Regions from separate parts of the Homo sapiens genome. Here region 2 is linked to region 1. Evidence: promoter capture Hi-C in 16 types of primary human blood cells and fetal thymus (Javierre and others, 2016). All regions are on one chromosome and are shown on one strand. The core of a region is centred on a gene start or on the middle of the fragment in contact, and the rest is flanking DNA. Distances in the headings are between cores, read along the strand shown.

Region 1 (5,394 bases), core at 2,316-4,815:
AGCGTGACCAACATGGAGAAACCCGTCTCTACTAAAAATACAAAATTAGCCGGCGTGGTGGCACATGCCTGTAATCTCAAAAAAAAAAAAAAAATACAAAAATTAGCTGGGTGTGGTGGCATGTGCCTGTAGTCCTGGCTACTGGGGAGGCTGAGGTGGGAGGAGTGCTTGAGCCCAGGAGGCAGAGGTTGTAGAGAGCTGAGATCGCACCACTGCATTCCAGCCTGGGTGACAGAGTAAGACTCTGTCTCAAAAAAAAAAAAAAAGTGGAATTACTCATTTCATTTATCATTTTTATTAGGTACTGCCAAGCAGTTTTCCAATGAGGTTATAGTTGTTTAATTTTTAATTAAAAAGAATAGAGGGCTGGGCACAGTGGCTTGTGCCTCTGGTCTGGTCCCAGCACATTAGGAGCCCAAGGTCGGGGGATCGCTTGAGGCCAAGAGTTTGAGACCAGCCTGGGCAACATAGTGAGACCCTGTCTCTGAAAAATAAAAAAAAAAACAAAAAACCGTGTGTTTGGAGTTGTAGCAAGTGTTGTGTTTTTTTGTTTTTTTTTAAAAGTCACCAGGTTCTCATGGTGAGTGGATTTTTTTTTTTTTTTTTTTGGAGATGGAGTCTGGCTCAGTCGCCCAAGCTGGAGTGCAGTGGCGCAATCTCGGCTCACTGCAAGCTCCGCCTCCCGGGTTCACGCCATTCTCCTGCCTCAGCCTCCCGAGTAGCTGGGACTACAGGCATCAGCCACCATGCCCGGCTAATTTTTTGTATTTTTAGTAGAGACGGGGTTTCACCGTGTTAGCCAGGATGGTCTTGATCTCCTGACCTCATGATCCGCCCATCTCAGCCTCCCAAAGTGCTGGGATTACAGGCGTGAGCCACCACGCCCGGCCGTGAGTGGATGTTTTATACGTGCTCCATCTGTTCTCCTAACCTGGAGTTGTTCCTGATTCTTCTTGTCCTGCCTCTGTCTCCAGGGGGCCTGGTAGGGGCCTGTGGTTTCCCTTGCAGAGCCATCTATCTTTGGTAAGGCCCTCCGCACAGGAAGCCCCAGAGCCTGGGCACTACTCGTGTGGTAACACAGACACATTGGGCAGTGATGGGGCAGCCAGGTAACTCCTGCCCTGACTTCCTCCTGACACAAAGAGTCTAATTTTCTCCTGGAGGCTTTCCAGAACCATCTTTGGCCTTCCCTGAGAGCATGTAGTATCCCTAGGCATGGGCAGCTCTGTATTTCAGCTCCTCCCAGTGGGCCAGACTGCCCGATGCCTGGGAGTGTGAGGAACATTTGGCAAGGACAGGAGACCACAGTTCTTTGTGTGTGGTGTCCCTCCTACACTAAACTGTGAGTGCCTTCCACTCCACAGAGCCTAGCACAATAACTTACTCATCAGATACATTCAGTAAATGTTTGCTGAAAGGAGTTGACAATTCGGAAATAACCCCGGGCTGTGCAGTTAGCAGCCAGTTTGTGTTTGAGAGAGCCCACACCAGAGATGGTTTTGAGAAGTTGGCTAGAAAGACTTTTGAAAAAGGCAGGCTTGGGCCAGGCGCGGTGGCTCATGCCTGTAATCCCAGCACTTTGGGAGGCTGAGGCAGGCAGATCACTTGAGGCTAGGAGTTTGAGACCCACCTGACCAACATGGTGAAACCCTGTCTCCACTAAAAATACAAAAATTAGCCCTGGGTGTGGTGGCGCGCACCTAGAATCCCAGCTACTTGGGAGGCTGAGGCAGGAGAATGGCTTGAACCCGGCGGGGGAGGGGGTGGAGGCTGTAGTCAGCCGAGATGGCACCACTGAACTCAAGCCTGGGCGACAGAGTGAGACTCTGTCTCAAAAATAAATAAATAAATAAATAGGCAAAACTTATCTTGGTTGAAGAGGGCTTGAATTTTGGCTATGAGAAGAGAGCGGGGAGGGCCTTCCAGGTTGGAAGGTGGGATAATGAGGGGGAGGGGATCACAAATGTCTGCACAGACCCAGAAGGTAACTAACCGTGAGAAACAGGGATTAGCGGGGACTATGGTAAATTTATGTGCTCTTAAAGGGGCTTGTAATGCCAGGCTGGAAAGTGAGCCCATGTTGTCAGATCTTCTGATATTTCAAAAGCCACGAAACCAGATTCCTGATTCCAGAAAGAGGCGGAGGAGGCAGGAGGGGGAAGGACTTCTTTTAAAAAGCCCCATGTGAGCTAAACAAAATACACCTACGGGCCACTTTGGGCCCACCGTCTGCCAACTTTAGACTTTCAAGACAAGGTCTAAAGGTAGTGTGGTGGGAGTGGGTAGAGTGGGCAGGAGTGGATGGGCTGAGATCAGAATGTGAAAAGCTCTCAATGTAAGCGCTGTCTCTCAAACGCGAGGGCACATGAGTCACCCAAAGTGCTGCTGAAGTTTGTGAAGCGCTACTGGAGGCAGTCCCAGAGGGCTTTGGAGCAGGAGAGGGACGCGATGAAAACAAGAGCTCAGAAAGATTAATTTGCCAACAGTGTGCAGACTGGAGATCAGCAGACAGGTTATGGGCCACAGGGTGGCAGACTTGAGGGCTCCTTTAAGGCAGCGACCCCGGCCCTGCTGAAGGGAGGCTGGCCTTCGGCCGCCCAGGCCGTCTCTCTAGTTCCGTTGGAAGCAAGGCGCTGCGTGCTCCGGACGGCTTACTGAGGGCACTTTGGGGAATCCGTCCCCACGGGCGAAGTATAGGTGGGGTGTTCGCGAACCGGCGGGCGGAGAGCACCGGCAAGAACCCCCGCAGACCGGAGGGCCACGCCTCTCGCTCCTCGGCTCATTGCAGGCGCCCACATCCCACCCCGCGGTGCTGAGCGAGGCGCATCTCGCTGCCATGGCGACCGCCTCCATGGAGACCGGGAGCAGAGGCTGCGGTCCCCGGGGGCGCGTCACAGGCTCTCCCAGCCCCCAGCCCGCGTGCCTTCTTTGTTCTGATGCTTCTCCAGGCCGGGCCAGGCACCCGGGACGCGTCTCGGGCCCGCACGGGGGTTGCTTCTTTCGAGACAGGGGATGGGGTGGAAGGGGAAGAGGTCCAAACCCTGGGGTCGAAACAGGAGTGATGGAGGGTTCCTCAGCTCCTGAACGAGACCAACACGGCCCGTATCGATGGCCGAAGCCGGCGTGGAAGCCCAGGGAGAAAGGCCACCTTCGGGAGCTCCACCCAGCCCCGAGACGCGCCCGACAGCCCTCCCGAGAGCGAAGGGCCCAAGGGAGGTGCGTCCTAAGCAAGGTTCAAGGCTAGAGGCGCTATCCCCCAGGCGGAAGAAGGAGCGGGGGCGGGGCCTATCCGAGGCCCTCCTTCTCCCTCTTCGAGTGGTCGGTTCTGGCCCCTGGCCTAGTTGGGCCGCCTGCCCGTCTTCCTCGCGAGAGCTCGCCCGGCAGGCGCGGACTAGCAGGGCGCTGCCTCGGCGACCCTGGCACGTGACGTAGGCGGCCCTCGCCAGTTGGCCGTTCTTTGGAGCCCGCTCATTGGTCCGGAGCGTCCCTCGCCCCACCCTCCCAGATCAACCAATGGGCGGAGGCGGGGGCGTGCCGACGGGAGGGCGGCCGCGGCGCGGGGCTCCCTTCCTCGTGCTCGGCGTTGAGCTCCTGCAGCCGCCGCCGCTGCAGTGGTCGTCCCTGCCCTCCCCGGCCCCGGGGTGCACCCCGCAAGGTGAGGCCACCCCTCTGCTCCCTGCCTCCCGGTTCCTTCCCGTTCGCCGAGGTCCCCTCCCGGTCCCGGCCCTGTCCTGAGCAGTCAGTGCCTGGGACCCCAGCGGCCGTGATGGCAGGGCTGGGGTGGGGGGCTCCGCTGTCGGGGCCGGGCCTGGAGGACTCCCCAGCACCTGAACTAGAGTGATGTCAGGTTCCCGGGGCGCAGTGACCGTTAGCTGGTGCAGCTGGGGTGTTTTCCGCGAAGCGATTGTCCGGGGGCATGAGTGCGGTAGTGAGGGCGGGGGCGTAATGGGGTCAGCGCCCCCTCCTCCCCACGACCCTGTTCATTGCCGCTGCCTCGCTGCATGACCTTGGACCAGTAGCATCTCTGAGCCTCCGAGCCTCAGCACCCTCAGGAAGGAGGGCAGTGATGTCTGGGAGTGCGGGCTCCGGAGACTCCTGCGTCAGCCGAGGTGAGTGAAGGTGGGGAGTGCACAGGATTATCTCCGAGGGACAGAGCCGCCGCCTCGCAGCTCAGGATGGATTGGATGGGGGGGATGTCCGATTACATTTCCCCCCTCCCCCTGAGATGACAAGAATGGGGTGTGGCGGGGGTGCCACACCCACAGGGATGGCTGCCGGAGAGGATAAAGGGTCCTACACCTGGACCCTTGGGGCCTCGGGGGCTTGGGCTGCACCTCCCTCCCGGTGGTATGAAGGAGGAGGGACTGGATTTAGGTTCTGGACCCGTGTTTCCATTAGTAAGCAGGGACTGAGAAAGGGAAGTCTCCGCTTGCCTTTCTTCTTGAATCTTGGCACTGGAAAGTGGAGGTAGGGCATTTTTCTGCTCCGGGGAGTTGAAGAAAGTCGGGGCAGCACCCCATCCCTCTCCCATTCTGGTCTTTTGTGGAGGGAAAATGTAGCTGGATATCCCCCCACATTCTATCCATCCTGAGCTACGAGGCAGCAGCCCTGTCCCTGGGAGATAATCCTGTGTGCTCCCACCCTCACCTTGGCTGACCCCCTGGATCCAGCCTGGCCTCTGCTTCTTGGGACCTCTGGATCACAGGCCCAGGGCAGGGCCTAGGTGGGGCATGCTATCTGGAGGCTAAGCACCCACTAGCTGAGGGCAAAGTGGGGAGAATGCTGGGCAGAGGAGGGCAGCACTTGTTGGGGAGGCAGGAAGGTGTGGGTGGTGAGGGTCCCTTCTCCATATTCCCCCACCCCCACCCCCAGCACCTCACTGTTAGAAGGAGAGAGAACAGCCATACTTATCTTTGCACCTTTGGCCCACTGGAGGGAGAAGGAAATTAAATCACATTAAAGCTGAGTTGATGTGAAGCTGCCACAACTACTGACCTCCAGCCTTGCCTTTCCAGGCTTTGTTCTGAGTATGTGTGGCCTCTGCTGTGTCCAGTCCTGAGAGTCAGCGGGTCAGTGTGGCCCCATCTCAAGGCCTCAATGGCTGTTCTTTTCACAGGCGTGAGCTTTAATGGGAGGCTACACAGTGCTTCTGCTGGACTGAGTGCTTGAGCCAGGACTGAGCCCCAGGCTGGGGTAGGAGAGGAAGAGGTAGGGAGGGTGGAAGGTTGCGGAGTTCCTGGCTCAGAGAGAAAGACCTCGAACCACAATGAGAATGGGGACTGAAGAAGGAATGAGAAATGAGGTCTCAGACGTTGGGAGCATGCTGACCAGAGGTGAATGGGTGTAGCTCCTCTTCCTGCACCCTGGGCTGGGGCCTGGAAGCTTGCTGACACT
Region 2 (7,238 bases), core at 4,227-6,726, 250 kb before region 1:
CTTATTTCCATTTGGTCCAAGGCTTGTTAGGGTAGTTAAGAAAGCTGCCTATTGGCTGGAGGGAGAGGCTTAGGCAGAAGCCCTATTACTTTGCAAGGGGCCCTTCAGAAGTCGCTGGGCTCATAAGGCTCTTAGACGTGCTTGAGAGTGAGCCTTTCGAAGAGATACTCGCCCAGCCCAGCCTCTGGGCCTCCCAGCCTGTGGAGGTTCGTCAGGTGGTCACCCATCTTCTTGATGAGCTTCACTTCCTCATCTAGGAAGTGAGTCTCCAGGAAGTCACAGAGATGGGGGTCCATGTGGGCAGAATCCAGGGCATGAAGATCCAAAAGGGCCTGGTTCAGCTTTTTCTCCAGGGCCATGGCAGCTTTCATGGCATCTGGGGTTTTACCCCACTCATCTTCAGCTGGCTTCTTGATGTCCTGGAAGAGAGCGCGGCCGCCACGCTGGTTTTGCATCTTCAGGAGACGCTCGTAGCCCTCGCGCTTCTCCTCGGTCAATTCGCGGAAGAAGTGGCTCACGCCTTCCAGAGCCGCATCATCGCGGTCGAAATAGAAGCCCAGAGAGAGGTAGGTGTAGGAGGCCTGCAGGTACAAATTGACCAGGCTGTTGACGGCTGCCTCCACGTCGGTGGAATAATTTTGACGAATCTGGGAGCTCATGGTTGGTCGCCAAGAAGGAGCTAACGACAAAAACGGTGCTGGCAGGTCCCAGAAGCAGGAGATAGCCGAGAAGATGGTCCCGGAGGTTGCAAGTGGAGAGGAAATTGGAGGGCGGTCGGAGGCTGGAAGACCGTCCCCGGATCTGTTCCGTCCAAACACTGTTGAAGCAAGAGACAGACCCACTGGACCGCCGAACTGCCTATCACCTCTTATTCTTAAAAATAAATCTTGGTTTCCTCCAACTTGCCTTTTTCTGTTTATTTTAATTATTAGTTTGCTTGCTTGTTTTGACTTGTTTTTATTGTTATTTATTTTCTATCTTCCATGTTAGCAGCTTTCCTCAGATATTTGGTAATCTGGTAATCTACAGTAGATGTTATTGGTGTTCTGCCCATACCTTCAGCTGCTATAAATCTCGGTCATAAATAGACCAGAGCTGCCACTTTATCTAAAGAATTGTCCTCAAGTAGGAACTACCTTGCCTGGGAATTCATGGCTTCCTCCCTGGCAGCCCACAGCCAGTGATTGATCAATATATGGATACAAAAGCTGGCCCTCTTGCTTCAAGGTGAGATCAACCCTGTGGTGCAATTCATGCTCCAGGGCTCCCTGTGGGTCAGACTGAGGCTAGACTCCAGCCAAGACCACATCCTTGCTCAGTTCCTTTCCATGCTCTTTCTGGAGGTGGAAAAAGGAGCTTCTTCTGAGGGCCCGCCCGCAATAAATCGCATGCATCTGAATCTGCATCACAGCTTCTGTTTCTAGGGAACCTAAGACATAATCTTTAGCTCTCTGCTCTTGATTAAGAGTAAAGGACTATGAAAAACCCTGAGTGCAGGAACTGGGCTTGTCAACTGTGATTCACCGTAGGGAGACATGGATGGTCGTTTACTGGAAATCTGAATGCCAGTATCCTTCATTCTTTCCCTTTTGGCTGGTCAGAGTGCTCAGAGAAGAGAGGTGGAGAGTAGCTGCCAGTGATTTGGGAAGTGATCAGAGAAGAAAGCTGAGGTTCTCAGCATGCAGTGAGGAAATAGTCACTTAACGCCCCTGTTCTCCACATGCCACCTTTGTCCTCAGCCACGCCTGGTGCCCCAGCCCAGAGATCCTCCTTTTTACTCTCTCCGGAGGTGAAATCTCCAGCCCTCTGCCTGATGAGAGAGAGAAACCTGCTGCTCGGAGAGTGGAAGAGGGGAACTAAGATTTTAACTGCTTCCCAATCACCTTTCACCCAGTTATCCTGATTCTTTGGCTTGCCCAGTACCAGAGATATCTAGGACTGCCAATTCCCATTTTTTTTTCTGTTTTTCTTTCTTTCCCCACCCCCCCTTGGATTTTGCCATGAAAATAGGGCTACTCTTAACTTTCCCTGGGTTTCAGCTTTCTTGGGGCTGCTGAGTCGATTACCACTCACCCATCTGTTTTCTATCTTCCAACTTATTTTTCCCCCACTATTGTCTACTCTGTTCTCTCTGTCCTCATGAGTTTGTGTCTTTAAACAAAATCCCTTTATAATAGTTTTAGTGAGTTTTGGGAGGAGCAAAAGTAGATGGGTGGATTCAATGCACCATCTTAACCTGGAAAAAAACTCCAATGGTATTAGGGAGATGTCTCCTCCCTGCATTCCCCTCCTTGTGAGCCCCTTTGGATGACAGACAGGCAAGTGAGAAACTAAGTAATGGAACCAAAGGCCTGGGATGGAAGCCGTGTCTCCCCATGGACAATGCTGTTCCACTACAGAATCCAAGCTTCTTCCCTCAGTCATGGCCTGAGTCAGCCTTTGAGGGAATAAAGGGCTGGAGTCCAGATTATGATGGCGTAGGTTGGAAGGGTAGGAAGCCAAGAAAAACTAAGGAAGCCTGCCTGGAGGAAGCACTGCAGCAGCAGGAAAAGCAGAAGATACAGAGTCTCTTTATCTGCATGGTGTCCTTATCTCCCAAATGAGAGAATTCATCTCTTCCAACTCTGCATCTATGACTCTGTGGGGATAAAAGTCACTCCAGAAAGCCTGTCTGCTTTCTTGCCCTGTTCCTCTTTCCCGTCTGTTGCTTTGGGATGAGGTGATAATGATTGGGAACTATTTGGGTAGATTGGATAGGTTGAAATGGAGGAAAAAGAAAACCAGCATAGTTCCTTTTTCCTAGAATGAGTTATGGGCAAAGATATATCATTCCACTTTATTCCTTTCTCTTTAAAGCTCAGGCCTAACAGAACCTAGCAGAGAGAAAAGGCAGTGATATAATTGGCTGGGGGAAATTGGAGGGGCAGAAGCTGTGATGATGGTGGTAGCCAAATGGTGGTCACAGCTGTGGGGGTTGTGTAATCAATAACTGGAGGAGCTTAGCAGAGCGGCTTGCTTTGTTCCATAGATGTAACTTGAAAGTACCCTCTGGGAGGCTGAGCTGGGCAGATCACTCAAGGCCAGGATTTTGAGACCAGCCTGGCCAACATGGCAAAACCCTGTCTCTACTAAGAATACAAAATTTAGCTGGGCATGGTGGCACACGCCTGTAATCCCAACTATTCAGGAGGCTGAGGCACAAGAATCACTTGAACAACCAGGAGGCAGAGGTTGCAATGAGTCTAGATGGCGCCACTGCACTCCAGCCTGGGTGACAAGAGTGAGACTCTGTCTCAAAAAAAGAAAAGAAAAGAAAAGAGGGCCAGGCGCGGTGGCTCATGCCTGTAATCCCAGCACTTTGGGAGGCCAAGGCAGGTGGATCACGTGAGGTCGGGAGTTCAAGACCAGCCTGACCAACATGGAGAAACCCCGTCTCTACTAAAAAAATACAAAATTAGCCAGGCATGGTGGCGCATGCCTGTAATCCCAGCTACCTGAGAGGCTGAGGCAGGAGAATCTCTTGAACCCGGGAGGCGGAGGTTGCAGTGAGCTGAGATCATGCCACTGCACTCCTGCCTGGGCAACAAGAGCGAAACTCCGTCTCAAAAAAAAAAAGAAAAGAAAAGCAACCAAGACACTGAAGTCAGTGGAGAAATACTCTGGCCTCCTGGTCATCCAGGCAGACAATGCTGAGGGCTGTTCTACAAGGTTTCTCAGTGGACGCCAAGCCAGACTGAGCCTCAGTTGCCCATGGCAGTAACTGGCCCATCAGCATACCTTACTGTTGGCTTCTCTCCCTTTCACAGCTTGCTTTCCCCATTTCTTCACTCTTATTTCCTGGAATCACCTCCCAAGTAAATTACCTACATCCAAGCCCTTGTCTTAAGATCTGTTCTTGGGAGAATCCACGCTGAGATGGGTATCCTCCAATCTAAAAGTGAGTCTGAGCAGGTTGTTCCACCCCTGGGAAATAGTGCTTCCAGTCTCCTGCATGTGTGGCTGGTCTCAGCTAAAAAGCTCCCACATGAGATCTTGAGAACATTTATATTTTCAGGAGTTCTGGGTGATTGGGCTTGTGTGTGCCAGAAAGGCAACGGGGCTTGTTGGTGGCTGGGTAAACAGAATCCCAGGTTCCCACCTCCTTCGCTGGCTTGTGGGTGGACACACAGCCAGTCCTAAAGGTACCATGCACACAGAAACCTACGCTTTCTCCCCAACTCTTGCTGTTTCACAGTCTTGCACACACATTCTGCATTAAGAAGCAATTCCGGTGGCTCATGCCTGTAATTCCAGCACTTTGGGAGGCCGAGGCGGGTGGATCTTGAGGTCAGGAGTTCGAGACCAGCCTGGCCAAGATGGTGAAACCCTGTCTCTTCTAAAAATACAAAAATTAGCTGGGCGCAGTGGCAGGTGCCTGTAATCCCAACTACTCGGGAGGCTGAGGCAGGAGAATCACTTGAACCCAGGAGGCGGAGGTTACAGTGAGCCAAGATTGCACCACTGCACTCTAGCCTGGGCGACAGAGAGACTTCATCTAAAAAAAAAAAAAGAAGAAGCAATTCCACCCCTCCGTGGGCAGCGTCACGCCCCAGCAAGAGGTCCCCATGGGCTATGAGGAGGAGAGGGCCATTGGGAGGGATCAAGGCAGGAGGAGTCACTTTGGAATTCTTGGATGAAGAGGCTCGGGGAACACAGAACATCTCCTCCTCTACTGGCACAGTCCAACGGGTCAAAGCATTATATGATCAACCCTTAAAGGGGTCATTTAGAACTCTGAATAATTAAGCTTTCAAAGGATTGACCAGTGGGAGGGATGTTTTTCTGAAATCGTGCCATCTCAACAGATGGGGAGGATGGACAGAGGAATGGGGCTATAGGCAACCTTTGATTTCTAGCTTCTGTTTGAAAGACTGATTTTGTCTTGACCAGTCAGGCATTCATTCAACAAACTTGTATTGGGCACCTGATCCAAAGATGACTAAAACCAGCCCCTGTTCTCACTGTTCCAAAATTAGTCAGACGTTTGATTTAAAAGTAGTTGTGATTTCTTTTCCAGGAGTCTTGAAGGACTTCTGACCATATGGGTAGGGACAATTTTCTGAGATGGATTTGGGGTGAGGACATTGCTTAAAAGGAGGTATAAGGGCTGGGCGTGGTGGCTTACACCTGTAATCCCAGCAATTTCGGAGGCCGAGGCAGGTGGATCACCTCAGGTCAGGAGTTTGAGACAAGCCTGACCAACATGGAGAAACCCCGTCTCTACTAAAAATACAAAATTAGCTGGGCGTGGTGGCGCATGCCTGTAATCCCAGCTACTCAGGAGGCTGAGGCAGGAGAATTGCTTGAACCTGGGAGATGGAGGTTGCAGTGAGCCGAGATGGCGCCACTGTACTCCAGCCCAGGCAACAAGAGCGAAACTCCATCTCAAAAAAAAAAAAAAAAAAAAAAAAGAGGTATAAGGGAGGAGATGGGAGGGGACTGTGGGGAGGAAGGATAAAGAGAAAGAGGGGCATCCTCCGAAACTCCAAACAGTGAAGTCTTCCCTACCCTACCCCTACCCATCATGTGGAACAAGGAAAATGTTAGCTGCGAAGCCACCACTTCAAGTCCTAGCTGCCTGCTGTTTTGAGGTACCCACCTAAACCCTCCAGAGAAAGAATTGCCCACCCACACTCTCCCATCACTTGCATTTTGCCTAGACCAGTGGGGGCTGGGAGTGGTGGGGGGATGAGTAGACTCATGTGCATCACTAAGCAAAGAGGATCAGGGACTAGCAGGTGAACCTCCAGCCGGAAGCACCAGGAGGACAAAAACTGTGATTTCTTCCTTAAGGGGAACACGGGACAACCCGCTACAGGGGACAGAAGAGCAGGATCCTGCCATATGTTGTAGAAACTGTGAGGCCAGATTCCACCTGTCCAGTCCCAAAGGAAAACTTTCTCCTTGACCCTAAAAACCAGTTGGGCCAGTTGATGACACAGCAAAATTTTAATAAGATGAGTCTCCCTGAAAACAGCAACTGGACACGGCCCCTCCTCCTTCCGTTCATTCTCTCATTCTCTTTCCCACTCACCCCTAATTTTTTCAAGAACAAAAGACATGAAATGAGCCACTCCATCCTCTACCCTACAGCCTGATTGGACTAGTGAATTACTAGCCAAGCTTTCTAAACAAACAAACAAAACAGGTTTCCAAACGCAGGGCAGAGGAAGGAAGCCAAAATAAGGAAGAAGAAAGAAAAGGAGCTCAGCCTTTCCTTCTCCTGTGGAGCCTCCCCAGCCCACCAGGGAACATCACCTCCACCAATAGCCACAGCAGACCCACTATGTGCCAGTCACATATTAGGTCCTGGGAGATACTGATCCTGCTGATGAAGGACTCACATGCTGGTGTGGTAAGAAAATATGCAAATGAGCAGGGACCTTGGAGGGTGCCTAGTGCTGAGAGGGAAGTGGGTACAGGGCACAGGTGGGGATTCTCAAGGAAAGTCTGTCAATAAGTGGGGGCAGAAAAAAATACTTTATCAAAAATGACTTTGTAAATACTTTACTTTTTTTTAGAGCAGTTTTAAGTTTGCCACAAAAGTGAGAGGAATGTGCAGAGTTCCCAACTAGCCCTTCCCCCCTACACATACATAGCCCCCCCATTATAAACATTCTCCCACGGGAGCATTTATTACTATTGTTGGACCTACATTGGCACATCATTATCACCCAAAATCCATGTTTACATTAGAGTTTGCTGCTGGTATTATTCATTCTATGGATTTAGACAAATGTGTCATGACAGGTATCCACCATTATGGTATCATACACAGAGTATTTTCACTGCCCTAAAAAGCATCTGTGGATTTTCAGAGAAAAGAGCAACTTTTGCATGCTAGGTAAGTATTGCTTTCCTAGTAGGGGAACAGCAGGAAACAGCAGTCACCTTGGTGACTACTGAGGTGAAACACCATGGTGCTGTTCTGTAAATGGCTGGAAAATAAGGCTCAAGGAGCCAGATGGGGCAGGGAAAAAGAAAAAGACAGAAACACAGGCAGATTTGAATACCATGAGAATCGATTTGCATGAGAATGGATTGAGACTTCTGCAACAGCCCAGGGGAGAGATGAGGGGGCTGATTTAGAACAGTGAGAGGTTTGAGCAAAGCAAAGTTGAAAAGACCCTCCAGGTAACTGCTATGATTGACAGCAAGGAGGGCAGTGTTCCCCCAGCACAGCCCTGGCACAGGCAGCT

Evidence for each region. The method cuts DNA at HindIII sites, captures the fragments that hold promoters and counts their contacts. A CHiCAGO score of 5 or more calls a contact.
Region 2: a contact is called between a fragment that was not itself captured here and the fragment with the promoter of ADISSP in region 1, in 1 of 17 cell types (naive CD4 T cells). The highest score is 5.1, in naive CD4 T cells.

The regions. Positions count from the first base shown.
Region 1 is chr20:3,765,924-3,771,317 of GRCh38, reverse strand. ADISSP (adipose secreted signaling protein) reads left to right here and starts at 3,565. Exons shown (of 6, transcript NM_001258429.2): 1 at 3,565-3,655. RefSeq lists enhancers at 2,231-2,280, 2,942-3,528, 3,656-4,420 and a silencer at 3,431-3,670. The HindIII fragment of the contact is 5,584 bases long and covers 1-5,384 here.
Region 2 is chr20:4,017,338-4,024,575 of GRCh38, reverse strand. It overlaps the pseudogene FTLP3. Among named protein-coding and RNA genes, the nearest start is that of RNF24, 5.4 kb to the right of the region's middle. The HindIII fragment of the contact is 1,376 bases long and covers 4,789-6,164 here.